Linked DNA regions of Homo sapiens: region 1 is linked to region 2. Evidence: promoter capture Hi-C in human tissues and cell types (Jung and others, 2019). All regions are on one chromosome and are shown on one strand. Each heading gives the region's core, a stretch centred on a gene start or on the middle of the fragment in contact. The rest is flanking DNA. Distances are from core to core; before and after follow the strand shown.

Region 1 (4,010 bases), core at 1,333-3,832, 150 kb before region 2:
GAGGAAGGACCAGCGGGACGCCTGCATCAAGGAGGCCATTCTCTTGGTGAGTGGCACCCTGTGTGCTCCTGCCCCAACCTGTAGCTTCCTGTGCCTGAGCCACCCTCCATCGGAAGCCCAGGTGGTACAGATCCCTCCCAGAGTCCCCAGAGGCCACTGCTAGTAGTGAAGCCCCTCCTCTGATACCCCAAATCCAGGCACACCATTGTGTATGCATCTGTATCTCCTCTCTCCCAACTAGGTGTCTTTTTTTTTTTTTTTGAGATGGAGTCTCACTCTGACACCCAGGCTGGAGTGCAGTGGCGCATTCTCGGCTCACTACAACCTCCGCCTCCTGGATTCAAACGATTCTCGTGCCTCAGCCTCTCAAGTAGCTGGGATTACAGGCACCTGCCACCATGCCTGGCTAATTTTTGTATTTTTAGTAGAGATGGGGTTTCACCATGTTGGCCAGGCTGGTCTCGAACTTTTGCCTCAAGTGATCAACCCGCCTCAGCCTCCCAAAGTGCTAGGATTACAGACGTGAGCCACCACGCGTGGCCTGGTTGTTTTTCATAAAAGGTTAAGTATTATTTGCTTCAATACAGAAAGAACTTCCTACAAAATTAGCCAGGCATGGTGGCACATGCCTGTAATCCCAGCTACTCGGGAGGCTGAGGCAAGAGAATTGCTTGAATCCAGGAGGCAGAGGTTGTGGTGAGCCGAGATAGCGCCATTGCACTCCAACCTGGGCAACAAGAGCAAAACTCCATCTCAAAAAATAAAAACGTCCACAGCATTTTTTTCCAATACAGCAAGTCCTCACTTAACACCATCAATAGGTTCTCAGAAACTTCGGCTTTAGCCTGGGCAACATGGCAAAACCCTGTCTCTGCCAAAAACAAAAAAAAATAGCTGGGCATGGTGGCGTGCACCTGCAGTCCCTGCTACTCAGAAGGCTGAGGTGGGAGGATTGCTTCAGCCTGGGAGGTAGAGGCTGCAGTGAGCTGTAATCATGCCACTGCACACCAGCCTGGGTGACAAGTGAGACCCTTTCTCAGAAAATAGTAAGTGGCTGGGCGCGGTGGCTCTTGCCTGTAATTCCAGTGCTTTGGGAGGCTGAGGCAGGTGGATCACCTGAGGTCAGAAGTTCCAAGACCAGCCTGGTCAACATAGTGAAACCCCCTATCTACTAAATATACAAAAATTAGCCAGGCGTGGTGACAGGCGCCTGTAATCCCAGCTACTCAGGAGACTGAGGCAGGAGAATCGCTTGAACCTGGGAGGTGGAGGTTGCAGTGAGCCCAGATCACGCCATTGAGCTCCAGCGTGGACACTGGGTGACAAGAGCGAAACTTCATCTTAAAAACAAAACAAAACAAAATAGTAATAGTTCCATAGACTCTCCAGACTCACACCCACTCCAGCAGTGTGTGCAAAAGCACCCGTGTCCCCATCCTCTCACCATACTGTAAATCACCAAACTTTGATCTTTACGCCTGTTGGTAGGTGAAAATAACATCTCAGGATAGAGTTAATTTGCACTTTCCTTATTTTGGATTGGCCATGTTTCATATGAGAATGCGTCCTTTCTACATTATTTAGTAGATAGTTTGTCTTTTTATTAGTGATTTGTAGGCACTCTTTTTTTTTTTTTTTTTTTTTTTTTTTTGAGACAGAGTCTCGCTCTGTCGCCCAGGCTGGAGTGCAGTGGCGCCATCTCTGCTCACTGCAAGCTCCGCCTACGAGGTTCACACCATTCTCCTGCCTCAGCCTCCCGAGTAGCTGGGACCACAGGCGAACCGCCACCACGCCCAGCTGATTCTTTGTATTTTTAGTAGAGACGGGGTTTCACCATGTTAGCCAGGATGGTCTCGATCTCCTGACCTCGTGATCCGCCCGCCTCGGCCTCCCAAAGTGCTGGGATTACAGGCGGGAGCCACCGTGCCCGGCAGCACTCTTTACATATTAGGCAATTTAGGCTTTTGCCTATGATATGAGTTGCACATGTTTCCCTCTAGTTGCTTCTATGTTGGCTCTGCTTATGGTCACTTTGCTGTGTAGGATTTTTTGATCTCTGTATAATTAAATGTGTCAGTTTTAGTTCATGGCTTTTGGGTTTGGGGTCATTCTTAGAAATGCCTTCCCCATTTCCATGCTGAGAGAATTCTTTTGTGGCCTCTCCAGTGCTTTTTTTTTTTTTTTTTTTGAGACAGAGTCTTGCTGTCACCAGGCTGGAGTGCAGTGGTGCAATCTCAGCTCACTGCAACCTCTGCTTCCCGGGTTCAAGCAATTCACCTGCCTCAGCCTCCCAAGTAGCTGGGACTACAGGTGCACGCCACCACACCCGGGCTAACTTTTGTATTTTAGAGATGAGGTTTCACCATGTTGGCCGGGATGGTCTCGCTCTCCTAATCTCGTGATCCGACCGCCTCGGCCTCCCAAAGTGCTGGGATTCCAGGCATGAGCCACCGTGCCCGGCCTCCAGAGCTTTTCTTCTGGCTTCTCCTTGACTGCTTGCTTGTTTCCATGGTTGAAGCTTTGATCCAGCTGGAGCATGTTATTATGTAACATGGTGGGATGGAGCTGATGTAATTTTTTTTTTAGATCTTGGCTCAGCTTTCTTCTCAGCCCCACCTGTCGAGAGCACCTGTCTTTTGCTTACAGCTGTGAAATCCCACCTTTCTCACAAAGTACATTCCTGTATGGATTTGGACCCCTTCCTGGCTGCTGTTCCTTCGTCCCTTGTCTGTGCATGTACCCAGCTCCTGACCTAAGCCTGGCAGCCAGTCGCCCAAAACGCCCGAGGCCCGCTTTTGGAGCTGACACGCTTCCCTTGGCTGGTGTGCTGTCCCGGGCGCTCTGATCCCAAGGAAGCTGTTGTCTTGGGGACATGCCCATCTGGCAGCTCTGCCTCTCTGCATCCACGTGCTCTGTCCCGCTCCCCACATCATCTCAGCAACTAAACCGGCAGACTGGGCCGGGTCCCAATTTTCAGTTGGCATGAGCCCCGGCTCAGTGTGTAGGTCATTGGTCCGTGTGACGCAGGGGGCTGCTGAGGGACCCTGCTGTGCAGTTGAGGGTGGGGGGTGGTGGGTGGAGCTCTGGGCTGCCTGGGCAGGTGGCCCGAATCCTGACACATGGCCCTGGGCTGCCCTTCTGTTCACCCGCCCTCGTCTGGGCAGCCCAGGGAGGTGCGGGTGGCAGCCCTGCTTCCCAGGCCATGGGTGGCTCTCTGGGTGTGGCCGTGTGTGATGGCTGTGCCGAGCGTGGATTTGTGCCCCAATCTTTTCCAGGTCTTAGGGTACGTACTGTTCTCAGCCTCTCCATGCTGGGACGCTGTTCGCAGTCAGCAGGGCTGGTTCTGGGAAACCCCCAGAGTTCCAGCTATGACTTCTCCCCTCCCCCGGTAACATAGGTGGATAGGTGGGACCTCGGGGAGGGGCAGGGGCTGGGGGTATCCGTCTTCCAGCTATTGAGTTTCAGACATTGAGGGTTGCAGACTCATTTGTGTCCTCTCTGCCACCTGCCATCCCTGTGACCCTGGACGATGGGCCTCTCGGTCTCTTTGTAAACATGAGGCCCGGGAGTGGTTCCAGAACGTCCATCATGGGGCTGCGAGAGCAGGAGGGATGGGGCGTCCATGGTGGCGGGAGGTTCTGTAAGTGGCGGTGGCCTTGATGGATCTCAGCACTGAGGTCGAGTTCTAAAGCCAGAGTGTGAGGCACAGTTCTGTCGCGTCACACTGGCTTCCAAGTCCCATGGATCTAGCCTTGAGAAGGCGGAAGGGGAGACTTGAGTTCTGCTGGGTCTTGGCTGCGTCGCCTCTGCCCTGGGGCGTGGGCAGGGCTGCGGTCTTGGAGGGTCTCTCTTTTCCTTTCTGTGATGAGCGCACAGCTGGGGCCGCTCCAAGCCGCTGTTCTGCCTTCCTTTTCCTGCCCCTGTTACCTGGGCAGCGGAGGGCCGTGCGGCCCGGGCTCTCAGTGAGTGGCTTTCCCTGCTTCCCTCCTCCCAGCACTTCTCCACCGACC
Region 2 (4,295 bases), core at 39-2,538:
CTGTTGCCCAGGCTGGAGTAACGGGGCGCAATCATGGCTTACTGCAGCCTCCAACTCCTGGGCTCAAGCGGTTCTCCTGCCTCAGCCTCCCGAGTGGCTGGGACTATAGGCATGCACCATCACCCTGGGTTGGTTTTGTATCTTTTTTTTTTTTTTTGAGACACAGTCTCACTCTGTCGCCCAGGCTGGAGTGCAGTGGCAGGATCTCGGCTCCCTGTAATCTCCATCTCCCCAGTTCTGGCGATTCTCCTGCCTCAACCCCACTGAGTAGCTGGGACTACAGGCGCCCACCACTAGGCCCAGCTAATTTTTGTATTTTTAGTAGAGACCGGGTTTTGCCATGTTGGCTAGGCTGGTCTTGAACTCCTGACCTCAGGTGATCCACCCGCCTTGGCCTCCCAAAGTGCTGGGATTACAGGCCTGGGCCACCATGCCCAGCCTGTATCTTTTTTTTTTTTTTTTTTTTTTTAATAGAGATTGGATCTCGCTGTGTTACCCCAGGTTGATCTTAAACTCGGCTCAAGTGATCCTCCCACCTCAGCCTCACAAAGTGCTGGGATTACAGGTGTGAGCTACAGCGCCCAGCAAAAGAAAGACATTTTGGGAGCAAAATAATTGAGGCAGGGACCCTGTCATTTAACTCACTGCTCAGGCCTATGTCGCCTGCCCCTCCCCCACGGAGCCACCTGCTCTCGCACTGTGTCTTCCTGTACCTAGATGTGTTTATGTAGAGCCTTCCAGAAAGCTCACAGGGGTGGATTCCTCCCACTCACTTGCATACACTGCCTTTCTTTTCTTTTTTTCTGAGACGGAGTTTCACTCTTGTCGCCCAGGCTGGAGTGCAGTGGCGTGATCTTGGCTCACTGCAACCTCCGCCTCCCGGGTTTAAGCCATTCTCCTGCCTCAGCCTCCCAAGTAGCTGGGATTATAGGCGCCCATCACCATGTCCAGCTAATTTCTGTATTTTTAGTAGAAATTAGTAGGGGTTTCATCATGTTGGCCAAGCTGGTCTCGAACTCCTGACCTCAGGTGATCCACCTGCCTCGGCCTCCCAAAGTGCTGGGATTACAGACATGAGCCATGTTGCCTGGTCCGTACACTGCCTTTCAGATAGAAAATGCATTGGGGAAACTGAGGCACGAGGTGGCAGGAAGTGGAGCCCCCAGCAGGCTGGAACACCGGACGTCTGTTGTCTGGCCCTGGGTGTTGCATCTGCTTCTGCAGCGGGAGGCGGAGATTGTGGCAGGAAGTCTGTCAACTGGGAGGGGGAGAGGGGGGTGATGGGCCAGGAATGGGGTCCCCGGGCATGGTGCTGGGCCTCCTGGTGCAGATCTGGGGTGAGTATCTGGGCCTCCCTCCCCTCTGAACCCCACTCTTGCTGTCATCCCCAGCTGCCTGCCCCCCAGCTCAGGGCCCCTCTAAACTTCAGTCTCTCTACTGTCAGATAAGGCCCATCTCCCTCCGAGACTCAGAACGTGATGGGGGCTGGAGGATTAAGGAAGGATCCTCTGAGGGCCCCTAGGATACAATCTAAACCTTGCCCTACATACCAGCCTGGCCTGGCCTCTCTCATCTCCACCCTCCGCAGTGCCTTTGCTCCCTCCCTCTTGCTCTAGCCTGGGGACTTTTCTTTCTCTGTTTCCGCAATGGGAAGGCTGGATCTGGCCTTCGAGCCTTTGCACCTGCTGTTCCAGCTGCCTAATACCCTTCTCCAGATCTCATGTCTCTACCCTCCTCTGCAATTGCATCTCAAATGCCAGGAACTTCACATAACCTCAACTTCTCCGGGGGTCTAACAGACACGTCAGACTTCTCACAGCTAAAAGCAGACTTTCTACTCCGGCAGCAGCTCCCTCTGTGTTTCCAATTAAGGACAAAGGCTGCTGCCCTTCACACATTTCCTGGGGCGAAAACCTCCATTCCTCTTTCCCTCTCCTCTGATTCCAGCCGCTTGCACTTTTTTGTTGTTCATTTGTGTTTTTTTGTTTGTTTGTTTTGTTTTGTTTTGAGAAGGAGTCTTGCTCTGTCACCCAGGCTAGAGTGCAGTGACGCGATCTCGGTTGACTGCAACCTCTGCCTCCCAGGTTCAAGAGATTCTCCTGCCTCAGGCTCCCGAGTAGCTGGGACTGCAGGCGCGCGCCACTGCGCCTGGCTAATTTTTTTTGTATTTTTAGTAGAGACGGGGTTTCGCCATCTCGGCCAGGTGGGTCTCGAACTCCTGACCTCATGATCCACCCACCTTGGCCTCCCAAAGTGCTGGGATTACAGGCGTGAGCCACCGTGCCCAGTCATTTTTGTTTTTTAGAGATGGGTCTCACTATGTTGCCCAGGCTGGTCTTGAACTCCTGGCCTCAAGCAATCACCCAGTCTTGGCCACCCAAAGGGCTGGGATAACAGGCATGAGCCACCACACCCAACCAAGGTCTTTTTATTAAAACTTAAATTGGAGACTGAGGCAGGTGGATCACTTGAGGTCAGGAGTTCCAGACCAGCCTGGCCATGTTGGTGAAACCCCATCTCTACCAAAAATACAAAAATTAGCTGGGCGTGGTAGCGAGTGCCTGTAGTCCCAGCTACTCAAGAGGCTGAGCCACAAGAATCACTTGAACCTGGGAGGCAGAGGTTGCAATGAGCCGAGATCACACCACTGCACTCCCACCTGGGCAACAGAGTGAGACCCCATCTCAAAACAAAAACAAAAACAAAAACAAAAACTTCAATTGGACTATTTCTTCCCTGCTTTCTGATTTTCCATCACACTTACATTAAAACATAAACTGCTTAACTTCCTTCACCTCCCCACACCACCCCAAGGCTCACAGGCCCTGCCCAACCCTTCCTCCCTCTCTCCCTGTCCTCACTCTGCTCCAGCCACACGGGCCTCCTCGCTGTTCCTCCAACACGCCAGGCACAGTCCTGCCCCAGGGCCTTTGCATGGGCTGTGCACTGCCTGGAATGCTCTTACCCCCCAATACCTTCCTTCTCACACTGGTTATACCTTTCCATTAAGATCCCTGGTCAGGCTGAGCACAGTGGCATGTACTTGTAACACCAGTAATTTGGGAGGCTGAGGTGGGAGGATCACATGAGCCCAGGAATGTTTTGTTTTGTTTTTTATTTTGAGACACAGTCTCGCTCTGTCGCCAGGCTGGAGTGCAGTGGCGCGATCTCAGCTCACTGCAACCTCCGCCTCCCGGGTTCAAGTGATTCTCCCGCCTCAGCCTCCCGAGTAGCTGGGACTACGGGTACATGCCACCACACCCAGCTAATTTTTGTATTTTTAGTAGAGACGGGGTTTCACCATGTTGGGCAGGATGGTCTTGATCTCCTGACCTCGTGATCCGCCCGCCTCTGCCTCCCAAAGTGCTGGGATTATAGGCGTGAGCCACTGCACCCGGCCTTGTTTTGTTTTGTTTGAGACAGAGCCTCGCTCTGTCACCCAGGCTGGAGTGCAGTGGCACGATCTCAGGTCACTGCAACCTCCACCTCCCGGGTTCAAGCGATTCTCCTGCCTCAGCCTCCCAAGTAGCTGGGATTACAGGCACCCGCCACCATGCCCAGCTAATTTTTGTAGTTTAAGTAGAGACAGGGTTTCACCATGTTGGCCAGGCTGGTCTTGAACTCCTGACCTCAGGTGATCCACCCGCCTCGGCCTCCCAAAGTGCTGGGATTACAGGCGTGAGCCACTGCACCCGGCCCATGAACCCAGGAGGTTGATCCTGCAGTGAGCTATGAAGGTGCCACTGCACTCCAGACTGGGCAATAGAATGAGATGGAGTCTTTTTTTCTTTGCTATGGAGTCTCGCTCTGTTGCCCAAGCTAGAGTGCAGTGGCAGGGTCTCAGCTCACTGCAACCTCTGCCTCTCGGATTCAAGTGATTCTCCTGCCTCAGCCTCCCATGTAGCTGGGATTCCAGGAGCCCGCCACCACACTGGCTAATTTTTGTATTTTTAGTAGAGATGGAGTTTCACCACGTTGGCCAGACGGGTCTCGAACTCCTGACCTCAGGTGATCCACCGGCCTTGACTTCCCAAAGTACAGGGATTACAGGCATGAGTCACAGCACCCAGCCCATGAGCCCAAGCGGCTGAGGCTGCAATGAACTTTGATGGTGCCACTGCGCTCCAGACTGGGCAACAGAGTGAGATGGAGTCTTTTTTTCTTATATATGGAGTCTCACTCTGTTGCCCAGGCTAGAGTGCAGTGGCGTGGTCTTAAGAAAAAAAAAAAGGCCGGTCACAGTGGCTCACATCTACAATCCCAGCACTTTGGGAGGCGTTAGCGGGGAGGATCAC

The links. The method cuts DNA at HindIII sites, captures the fragments that hold promoters and counts their contacts. A contact is called where the count stands out against the background at its distance.
Region 1: a contact is called between a fragment that was not itself captured here and the fragment with the promoter of TMIGD2 in region 2, in 1 of the 25 tissues and cell types used here (dorsolateral prefrontal cortex).

Annotation. Positions count from the first base shown.
Region 1 is chr19:4,448,400-4,452,409 of GRCh38, reverse strand. It overlaps UBXN6 (UBX domain protein 6), which reads left to right. Exons shown (of 11, transcript NM_025241.3): 4 at 1-46; 5 at 3,995-4,010. It also overlaps a transcript of CHAF1A not described here. Among named protein-coding and RNA genes, the nearest start is that of MIR4746, 4.4 kb to the right of the region's middle. The HindIII fragment of the contact is 5,827 bases long and covers 1-4,010 here.
Region 2 is chr19:4,299,382-4,303,676 of GRCh38, reverse strand. It overlaps TMIGD2 (transmembrane and immunoglobulin domain containing 2), which reads left to right and starts at 1,288. Exons shown (of 5, transcript NM_001169126.2): 1 at 1,288-1,337. The coding sequence starts at 1,292. RefSeq lists an enhancer at 1,282-1,827. The HindIII fragment of the contact is 29,023 bases long and covers 1-4,295 here.